2 separate regions of the Homo sapiens genome follow, and region 1 is linked to region 2. The links are contacts of gene promoters, found by promoter capture Hi-C in blood cells and fetal thymus (Javierre and others, 2016). All regions are on one chromosome and are shown on one strand. Each heading gives the region's core, a stretch centred on a gene start or on the middle of the fragment in contact. The rest is flanking DNA. Distances are from core to core; before and after follow the strand shown. Region 1 overlaps KLRF1 (killer cell lectin like receptor F1). Region 2 holds the start of CLEC12A-AS1 (CLEC12A antisense RNA 1).

Region 1 (6,178 bases), core at 3,518-6,017, 110 kb before region 2:
TGGCTATAATCACACAAAAAGAGCAAGTGTTGGTGAGGATGTGGAGAAATTGCTCACATATTTCTGGTAGAAATGTAAAATTTTATAGTACTGTGGAAAACAGTTTGACAGTTCCTCAAATTATCACATGACCCAACATTCAACTTTTAGGTATATATTTAATAAAATGGAAGACATATGTCCTTACAAAAATTTGTACATGAATGTTCATTGTAACAATATTCATAATAGCCAAAGAATGGAAGCAGCTCAGATGTCCATCAGCTGATGAAGAGATAAACAAAATGCACTACATACATGTTATGAAATATTCTTACAACCATAAAATAGAATGTAGTACTGATACATGCTACAACTTTTATGAACCTTGAAAACATTGTGCTGAATGAATGAAAAAGCCAGATACAAAAGGCCACATATTGTATGATTCCATTTATATGAAAGGTCCATCATAGTTAAATCCACAGTGACATAAAGCAGGCTAGTGGTTGCCAGCGCTGGGGGAGTAGAAGATGAATAGTGACTACTTAGTGTTTATATGTAATGAAAATGTTCTAGAATGAGATAGTAGTGATAGTTGTACAACATTGTGGGTGTATTAAAAGCCACAGCACTTGCACTTTAAAATGGCTAAAATGGTGAATTTTATGTTACGTGAAGAAAAATAATCACGATAAAAAATAAATAAAAAGAGACAGATTGTAATGGGCCATAAGTTAAAATAGTTATATTGGCCTTTACATATATTTTTATATATATCTCACTTTTTCTCAATACTATGCCAAAAATCTCGATATTTTCCATTTAATTTAATTTACCTTAATATTAAGCTAGGAAAATCAAAGAACTTCATAATATTTCAGTTATTAAGAGGTTGAAAATAAAGAAGTTGAAAATAAATTGTTATTCTTGACATAATTTAATCATTTAATCATTAATTAATATTAAGAGGGAGAAAGGGATACACATACAAAACTACAAGGAGAGCGATTTTAAAACTTTGTGTGGTTTTTACTTGCATTTCCTGTAATGATCAGTGATGTTAACGACGATGAGGTACTAACTCACACCAGTCAGAATGGCTATTATTAAAAAGTCAAAGAATAACGTGCTGGTGAGGGTGTGGAGAAAAAGGAATGCTTATACACTGGTGGTGGAAGCGTAAATTTGTTCAGCCGTTATGGGAGACTGTGTGGCAATTCCTCAAAGACCTAAAGGCAGAAATACCCTTCAACCCCGCAATCCCATTACTGGGTATATACCCAAAGGAACGTAAATCATTCTATTATAAAGACACATGCATGTGTATGTTCATTGCAGCACTATTCGCTATAGAAAAACATGGAATCAACCTAAATGCACATCAATAGTAGACTGGATAAAGAAAATGTGGTACATATACCATACCATTCCATACCATGGAATACTATGAAGCCATAAAAATGAATGAGATCATGTTCTTTGCAGAAACATGGATGGAGCTGGAGGCTATTATCCTTAGCAAACTAATGCAGGAACAGAAAGCCAAACATTGCATGTTCTCACTTACAAGTGGGAGCTAAATGATGAGAACACATGGACACATAGAGGGAAAAAACACACACTGGGGCCTACTTGAGGGTGGAGGGTGGGAGGAGGGAGAGGATCAGAACAAATAACTAATGGGTACTGGGTGCTACTTGGATGTTGAAATAATCTCTACATCAAACCCCCATGACACAAATTTACCTATGTAACAAACCTGCACGTATACCCCTGAACTTAAAAGTTAAAAAAAACCTTTGTGTGGATAAATTCTAAGTGATACAAATTATATTTTATCTAATCTCTCAAATAGCTATTTTATTTTGTTCATGCTATTTTAGTCAATATAATAGATCTTGCATCAAAAATCCCATTATGTCTAGGTTTTGCTTCATCTCATTAAATTAATTGTCTTAATTCCCAAGGACCATTATTTGTGTTTTGGCCATCTTTTGTGTCTGGACAATTTGCTATAAGTGATTTTATTGTAGCTCAACTCTTATTTATACAACATGTAAGTATTGTTCTTATGGCCAATTTTCAGAGATGCATATGTAATTTAATTTCATTTTGTTTTCTACATTTCTCTGTAGTACTATGCCAATCAGAATGGCTCAAATACCAAGGGAAGTGTTATTGGTTCTCTAATGAGATGAAAAGCTGGAGTGACAGTTATGTGTATTGTTTGGAAAGAAAATCTCATCTACTAATCATACATGACCAACTTGAAATGGTAATTGGTCTAGTATCAGGGTTATGGCATCTTTGCAGTAAAAAATGGCTTTCCTCAAATATCTTTCCATCTTTGCATTAAATCATCATTTACCTTGATTATCGAGTTTTGGGCACCCTCTTAAATTTTGTATTCCAAGTGAGTGCCTCACTTCTCATGCTAGATCTGGCCCAAATTCATATATTCAACTTGCAATTGTGTGTGTGTGTGTGTAACATATATATGATATAATGTGTGTATAAGTAAGATATGAATTGATTACCATAAGAATCCCTATGCAGAGTGCTTTTTTGCAATAACATTTAAAATATTCAGTGTGTCTGAATTGCTAAAATATTTTGTTCATTTAGTCCCTCGTCCACATTTTAGGCTTTTATACAGAAAAACCTAAGACAATTAAACTACGTATGGATTGGGCTTAACTTTACCTCCTTGAAAATGACATGGACTTGGGTGGATGGTTCTCCAATAGATTCAAAGATGTGAGTCTTTCTTAAAAGGCAATCTGATTTATTGTTTATTGTAGAATATGTCTCCTCCAGGTTCACCAAATTCAACTCTGAAATAGTTACTGGTACTACAGAATTCAAAAGAATGAAAATTAATTTAGTATTTACAGGAGTAATGATGGATAGTTTGATTTGACTTTTAAAGAAAAAGGATTTGAAAATGGTGGTTTATGATTTTAAAATTTCTCACACTTTATATAGAAAAGTAGATTGAATGAATGCAGTCTCTTATTTTTAAAGGTCTCAATGTTTTCTTTAGCCATCTTCAGTAATAAAATAAAACCAATGTGCATTTTTTGTGTTATGTGATTATCATAGTGTCAAAATACAAATGGTATATACAACATAGAACAAGATTATCCAAAAGTCTCTGAACAAATGCATGGAATTATTGATTTTAAAAGTTCTGTCAACATTTTTGTGCGCATTATTTTATAATAAAATATTTAATTAAAAATATAAACAGTAAAACAGATAAATTCAAAATCCTATTCCTATGTTAGCAGGCAAGATAATGGTCCCCAAAGATGTCCACATTCTAATTCCAAAATGCTGTGAATGTGTTATTTTATATGGCAAAAGAGCCTTTGCAGGTATGATTAAATGAGGAATCTCGAGATAGGGATATTATCCTGGATTATCTGGGTGGCCCCAATTAAATCACAAGGGTCCTTAGAAGAGGGAGGAAGCAGAATTAGAGTCATATTGGGAGATATGAAGTGGAACACAGAGATTCATATGATGTGAAATCACGTCTGTGAGCCAAGGCACGCAGGTGGCCTCGGATTCCTGCCTAGTACATCCAGAAGGTGACTCTGCAGACGTTTTGATCTTAGCCCTGTAGGGCAATCTTGGGCTTCTGATACTCATAGGTGTAAGATAATAAATTAGCCTTGTTTTAGGCCACTACATTTGTGATAATTTGTCATAGTAGTGATAGAAAAATAGTACATTATAGTAACCAACTTAATGGTGTTATTGTATTATTTTCCCCTTATTTCTATTCATCATTAAATATTACATATTTTCTATCTGACTGCACTAAATCAATATAAAAAGTGAATAAAAAACATTATTTGGAATGCAGTGTAAAATTATGGATGTGTGTCATCTGAGAGCAGAGTTGTGTCACTGAACGTCATGAAGTTGCCCAACTTGGTTTTGTCTTCATTCCAAATCCATTCATCACTACCCGTTAGGGTTGAGTTTTAAGTCTAGATCATGCTTGGAGATTTTTGTCCATAATATGTTCAATACAAAATTTAAAACTAAACTCGGACAAAGTGTATTTTCTAATATGAAAATTCAGTACTTACTTGCCCTTATCAATTTGGAAGCTTTGAAGATCATGTGCACCTTTTCCAAGATTCTTTCTTGAACTTTTTCCACAGGTCAAACAAATTTATCAGAATGTATCACTAACACTACATTATTTTATACATAAATTTGTTAATATTTTTAATATGTTACATTATAAGTAAATAATGCAATAAATATGCAATTTATTATTTAGGTCATGCACAGTTCGTTTTGTGTATTGAGTTCTTTACAAACCTCAATTCATATAACTGCTAAACAATATCATGAAGTATTATTATCGTTCTTATACAATTAGATATAAGAAGGCAAGAGAGGTTGTTAAGTGAGGTGTCCACATGGAGTTAATCTTATTTTTAATCTAACTGAACTACATGGGGCAAGAGGAGGAATACTAGAATGGGAATGTGGAGGGAAATTTATTCTTACTTCTGTTAGTTGCAGACTCTCTGGCAACTCTTGACCAACCACAGCTAACAAGGCTAAGTTACAGTTACTGTAATCGTTAGTGAATCCAAGTATGTAAAAATGCTTTGAGATTTTGAATTACTTTTTTATTTAAAAGAGGATATTAGCAGAAGACACAAATGGATGTCTTCAGCTACAGTGATTAACAAAGTATTTATTCTCTCTTCCCTAGATTCTTCATAAAGGGACCAGCTAAAGAAAACAGCTGTGCTGCCATTAAGGAAAGCAAAATTTTCTCTGAAACCTGCAGCAGTGTTTTCAAATGGATTTGTCAGTATTAGAGTTTGACAAAATTCACAGTGAAATAATCAATGATCACTATTTTTGGCCTATTAGTTTCTAATATTAATCTCCAGGTGTAAGATTTTAAAGTGCAATTAAATGCCAAAATCTCTTCTCCCTTCTCCCTCCATCATCGACACTGGTCTAGCCTCAGAGTAACCCCTGTTAACAAACTAAAATGTACACTTCAAAATTTTTACGTGATAGTATAAACCAATGTGACTTCATGTGATCATATCCAGGATTTTTATTCGTCGCTTATTTTATGCCAAATGTGATCAAATTATGCCTGTTTTTCTGTATCTTGCGTTTTAAATTCTTAATAAGGTCCTAAACAAAATTTCTTATATTTCTAATGGTTGAATTATAATGTGGGTTTATACATTTTTTACCCTTTTGTCAAAGAGAATTAACTTTGTTTCCAGGCTTTTGCTACTCTTCACTCAGCTACAATAAACATCCTGAATGTTTTCTTAAATAGTAGCACCTTTATTTCTATGATAGAAGCCCTAAAAGTAGTATTTCTAGGTAAAAGTGTTAAATGTGTTGTTTTATATTTTATACAATTTTTATATGTTGCACTTTTCTTTCCAAATTTAGAAGCTTTCAAACTTATAAGAAGATATTAGGTGCAGAAAAAGAATATACTTATTTCCTTGAGCAGTGGTTTGTAATTCTCCTTGAAGAGGTCCTTCACATCCCTTGTAAGTTGGATTCCTAGGTATTTTATTCTCTTCGTAGCAATTGTGAATGGGAGTTCACTCATGATTTGGCTCTCTGTTTGTCTGTTATTGGTGTATAGGAATGCTTGTGATTTTTGCACCCTGATTTTTTACCCTGAGACTTTGCTGAAGTTGCTTATCAGCTTAAGGAGATTTTGGGCTGAGATGATAGTGTTTTCTAAATATACAATCATGTCATCTGCAAACAGGGACAATTTGACTTACTATCTTACTATTTGAATATCCTTTTATTGCTTTCTCTTGCCTGATTGCCCTGGCCAGAACTTCCAATACTTAGTTGAATAGGAGTGGTGAGAGAGGGCATCCTTGTCTTGTGCCGGTTTTCAAACGGAATGCTTCCAGTTTTTGCCCATTCAGTATGATATTGGCTGTGGGTTTATCATACATAGCTCTTACTATTTTGAGATACGTTCCATCAATACCTAGTTTATTGAGAGTTTTTAGCATGAAGTGGTGTTGAATTTTGTTGAGGGCCTTTTCTGCATCTATTGAGATAATCATGTGGTTTTTGTCATTGGTTCTGTTTATGTGACGGATTACATTTATTGACTTGCCTATGTTGAACCAACCTTGCATCCCAGGGATGAAGCTGTCTTGATTGT
Region 2 (4,937 bases), core at 2,422-4,921:
TTTAAATAAATATACAATGTTTTCTGGAACCTCGTGATTGTGTTGGATTTTTTTTTCCTATTTATTTCATTAACCATTTCATAAGGAAAGGTTTCCTCTGACTCTTTAGAATGGACAGCTTCTTTTAAACCTTTAAATCATTGCATCTGCCTGTAATTATTTCCATTTTTCTAGCATTGGATTTTGAGATGAGTTACTTCAGAATGAGTATTTAAATGTTTTAGACAAAAGTAGATAAAAAAATCTGTATCATTGTCACATTTTTTGAGATTTAGAAGCCAACTTGAGTTGCAGTAACCAAAAATGTGGTCTGGCAAAGCCCACAGTCCCTGGTGGGTTACGATCTGAAGATGGTCTGAAGCTGAGTTGGTTGTCTGGCAGCATTCCCTTGACTGGCCTCACTTCCAGGCACTCCTGCACAGAGCTGTGGGGTGTTCATTCCCCATCAAATCTCCTGTTGCCCTGAAAAATTTAAAGAGGCAGAGAAAGTGACAACTAGACCTAGCATTTTGGTGTATAAGTGCATATATTTCAGTTTTTTTGTTATTGTTGTTACGGCAGTCTGAATTTAGAACTTTGTGCTAACAACAGGTTACAGCAACCCTAGAGTCCATCAATGGGTGGAATAAAAATATGTCATATATACATACAATGGAATATTATTCAGCCTTAAAAAGGAAGGACATTCTGACACAAGCTACAACATAAATAACCATCGAAGGCATTATGAAGCTTCTTTTACTAGCAAAGTTACTTTCCAGAAACCTTAGTAGCTGCGATCTTGCTTCAGTCCATAAGCTTTCTGTGACTTGACTTAGAGTAGCAGGCAATTAGTCCATAAAAGAAACATAATGAATATCCTGATGCCTCTCAACCATCTGGAAAATATTAACCGGGCACCGAAATACTTGATAAATGCTGTGAAAAACATGGGATTGGGTGGTGAATAGGTTGACTGACAAGGTATGTAGAAGAGTGGGGAGAGTGTACTTTAGGGTGGGTGGTGAGACTAAGTCACTCTTCTCATTAAAAGAATGTGTGCTGCCTGTACAAATTTGTCTTCATCTTTTTCAGCCAATCCACTCCAATGGGCTTATGGATATGCTGGCCATATTAACAAATTAAGACACAAGATTTCCAGTTAAATTTGAATTTCAATCGACCACAGATAATTGCAGAGACAGCAAATACAAATATTGATGAGCAATACTTACATTAAAAATAAGTCATTTTTACCTGAAATTCAAATTCTGTTTTCCCACACATAGCTACATTATTTCCTGCACGTAGCTACATCCCTCCTCTGCTATGTAAACCCCCAATTTCAGTCACTTGGGGAGATGAATTTGAGACTGATCTGCAGTTCTTCTCAGCTGCAGCAACTGAATAAAGTCATCTCCCCTGGAAATACTTGCCTCAGTGATTGGCATTCTGTGCAATGAGTAACGGGACCTAGGCTGAACCTCTGGCATTTCAGTAACAGATTTTGGTTCCCTCATCAGGAAGACATTGCTCTTGGCTTGGCTGTCACCAGTTGGGAGAATTTCCGCAACCCTAAGCAGCAGCCTATGTGTTTTAGGCAGGATGTGGGTTTTAGTCTTTCTATTTAGCATTGCTGCTGCCAGCCCCAACCACATTTCTGATTGCCTAGGAAGAACAGCCTTTCAAATTTGACTTCTGCATGTGGATAGGTGAGTGTCTTTTGTGGATACCGACAGTGGGAATGGCTCCTCTCAATTTGAGAAATTCTGAAGGAATTTCCATTGGCAAGTTCAGCAAGGCCAACTGACGGAGAGAGGAAGCACCCTGACTGTTCCAGTTCAGACACTCTTGGGGCTTGTTAGTAATTGAGTATGTGTCTGGATAAGTGAGTGTCATTTGTGGGTCCAGACAGCAGGATCTGCTTTTCTCAATTTGAGAAATTCCGAAGGAATCTCCATTTGCAGATTGAACTAGCCCAACAAACAGGGAGAAAGCAACTCAACTGTTTCAGTTTGGACTCTCTTGGGACTTGCTTATTGTTGCAGCAGTTAGATTGTATTCTGGTGGTTGTTTGTGTGTTGATGTAGTTGTGGGAGATCAGGGTTTGATCTGAGTGCAGACCGCTTGGGTGTATTCTTCAGGGTTGGTCTGCATGTGGCTGTGGGCCAGTGGAGTGAGGGAACATCTCTACCCGTATCACGCTGAACATGCCCAATCTCATCTGATCTCAGACAGTCTTTGAATTGTAGCACTGCCTTATATTTGGATTTATTTTGCTGTTGAATGTGAATATGGGATGGAAGTCCATGTCTCCAGGCTTCTATGCTGCTGCTCTAAGGACAGGCAGGCCTGATTAGTATGTGCTGCTGTTTGGCTACAGAGTTCTTTGGAGTCTGGAGAGATTTGGCCTTTAAAAATCAAACTGTCAGACCCTGTCTCAAGGAAAAAAAAAAAAACAGGATGTGAGCGCTCTCCCTCTCCCTCTCCCTCTCCCTCTCCGTCTCCCTCTCCCTCTCCCTCTCCGTCTCCCTCTCCCTCTCCCTCTCCGTCTCCCTCTCCCTCTCCCCACGGTCTCCCTCTCATGTGGAGCCGAAGCTGGACTGTACTGCTGCCATCTCGGCTCACTGCAACCTCCCTGCCTGATTCTCCTGCCTCAGCCTGCCGAGTGCCTGCGATTGCAGGCACGCACCACCACGCCTGACTGGTTTTGGTGGAGACGGGGTTTCGCTGTGTTGGCCGGGCCGGTCTCCAGCCCCTAACCGCGAGTGATCCGCCAGCCTTGGCCTCCCGAGGTGCCGGGATTGCAGACGGAGTCTCGTTCACTCAGTGCTCAATGGTGCCCAGGCTGGAGTGCAGTGGCGTGATCTCGGCTCACTACAACCTACACCTCCCAGCAACCTGCCTTGGCCTCCCAAAGTGCCGAGATTGCAGCCTCTGCCCGGCCGCCACCCCGTCTGGGAAGTGAGGAGTGTCTCCGCCTGGCCACCCATCGTCTGGGATGTGAGGAGCCCCTCTGCCTGGCTGCCCAGTCTGGAAAGTGAGGAGCGTCTCCGCCCGGCCGCCATCCCATCTAGGAAGTGAGGAGCGCCTCTTCCCAGCCGCCATCACATCTAGGAAGTGAGGAGCGTCTCTGCCCGGCCGCCCATCGTCTGAGATGTGGGGAGCGCCTCTGCCCCGCCGCCCCATCTGGGATGTGAGGAGCGCCTCTGCCCGGCCGAGACCCCGTCTGGGAGGTGAGGAGCGTCTCTGCCCGGCCGCCCCGTCTGAGAAGTGAGGAGACCCTCTGCCTGGCAACCACCCCGTCTGAGAAGTGAGGAGCCCCTCCGCCCGGCAGCCGCCCCGTCTGAGAAGTGAGGAGCCTCTCCGCCCGGCAGCCACCCCATCTGGGAAGTGAGGAGCGTCTCCGCCCAGCAGCCACCCCGTCCGGGAGGGAGGTGGGGGGGGTTAGCCCTCCGCCCGGCCAGCCGCCCCATCCGGGAGGGAGGTGGGGGGTCAGCCCCCCGCCTGGCCAGCCATGCCGTCCGGGAGGGAGGTGGGGGGGTCAGCCCCCTGCCCGGCCAGCCGCCCCGTCCAGGAGGTGAGGGGCGCCTCTGCCCGCCCCCCCCTACTGGGAAGTGAGGAGCCCCTCAGCCCGGCCAGCCACCCCGTCTGGGACGGAGATGGGGGGTCAGCCCCCCCGCCCAGCCAGCTGCCCCGTCCGGGAGGGAGGTGGGGGGGTCAGCCCCCCGCCTGGCCAGCCGCCCCGTCCGGGAGGGAGGTGGGGGGGTCAGCCCCCCGCCTGGCCAGCCGCCCCGTCCGGGAGGGAGGTGGGGGGGGTCAGCCCCCCCGCCCAGCCAGCCGCCCCGTCCGGGAGGTGAGGGGCGCCTCTGCCCGGCCGCCCCCTACTGGGAAGTGAGGAGCCCCTCTGCCTGGCCAGCCGCCCCGTCCGGGAGGGAGGTGGGGGGGTCAGCCCCCTGCCCGGCCAGCCGCCCCGTCCGGGAGGTGAGGGGCGCCTCTGCCCGGCCGCCCCTACTGGGAAGTGAGGAGCCCCTCTGCCCGGCCACCACCCCGTCTGGGAGGTGTGCCCAGCAGCTCATTGAGAACGGGCCAGGATGACAATGGCGGCTTTGTGGAATAGAAAGGCGGGAAAGGTGGGGAAAAGATTGAGAAATGGGATGGTTGCCGTGTCTGTGTAGAAAGAAGTAGACATGGGAGACTTTTCATTTTGTTCTGCACTAAGAAAGATTCTTCTGCCTTGGGATCCTGTTGATCTGTGACCTTACCCCCAACCCTGTGCTCTCTGAAACATGTGCTGTGTCCACTCAGGGTTAAATGGATTAAGGGCGGTGCAAGATGTGCTTTGTTAAACAGATGCTTGAAGGCAGCATGCTCGTTAAGAGTCATCACCAATCCCTAATCTCAAGTAATCAGGGACACAAACACTGCGGAAGGCCGCAGGGTCCTCTGCCTAGGAAAACCAGAGACCTTTGTTCACTTGTTTATCTGCTGACCTTCCCTCCACTATTGTCCCATGACCCTGCCAAATCCCCTCTGTGAGAAACACCCAAGAATTATCAATAAAAAAAAAAAAAAAAAAAAAAAAAAAATCAAACTGTCAGCTGGGCGCAAGAAACTGAGGTGGGCAGATACTTGAGCCCAGGAGTTCGAGACCAGCCTGGGCAACATGGTGAAACCCTGTCTCTACAAAAAATACAAATATTAGCTGGGTGTAATGGTGCATACCTGTAGTCCCAGCTACTCAGGAGGCTGAGGTGGGAGGATTACCTGAGCCTGGGAGGTTGAGGCTGCAGTGAGCCTTGATCACACCACTGCACTTCCAGCCTGGGTGACGGAGATCCTGTCTCAAAAAAAAAAATAATCAAACTATCATGGAAACTGCTTTATTCAAAATTTTGTTTCACAACCTTTATTGGATTACCTATCAGAACAAATAAAGTTCAACCATGTGAACATGT

What was found. The method cuts DNA at HindIII sites, captures the fragments that hold promoters and counts their contacts. A CHiCAGO score of 5 or more calls a contact.
Region 1: a fragment that was not itself captured here is called in contact with the fragment with the promoter of CLEC12A-AS1 in region 2 in 1 of 17 cell types (neutrophils); the score reaches 6.2 in neutrophils.

Annotation. Positions count from the first base shown.
Region 1 is chr12:9,839,695-9,845,872 of GRCh38, forward strand. It overlaps KLRF1 (killer cell lectin like receptor F1), which reads left to right. Exons shown (of 6, transcript NM_016523.3): 4 at 2,118-2,257; 5 at 2,627-2,739; 6 at 4,724-5,311. The coding sequence ends at 4,832. Among named protein-coding and RNA genes, the nearest start is that of KLRF1, 15 kb to the left of the region's middle. The HindIII fragment of the contact is 1,333 bases long and covers 4,102-5,434 here.
Region 2 is chr12:9,949,666-9,954,602 of GRCh38, forward strand. CLEC12A-AS1 (CLEC12A antisense RNA 1) reads right to left here and starts at 3,672. Exons shown (of 3, transcript NR_135047.1): 1 at 2,885-3,672; 2 at 1,237-2,414; 3 at 1-462. It overlaps LOC124902874 (a long non-coding RNA gene), which reads left to right and starts at 1,992. Exons shown (of 2, transcript XR_007063207.1): 1 at 1,992-3,372. It also overlaps a transcript of CLEC12A not described here. The HindIII fragment of the contact is 17,088 bases long and covers 797-4,937 here.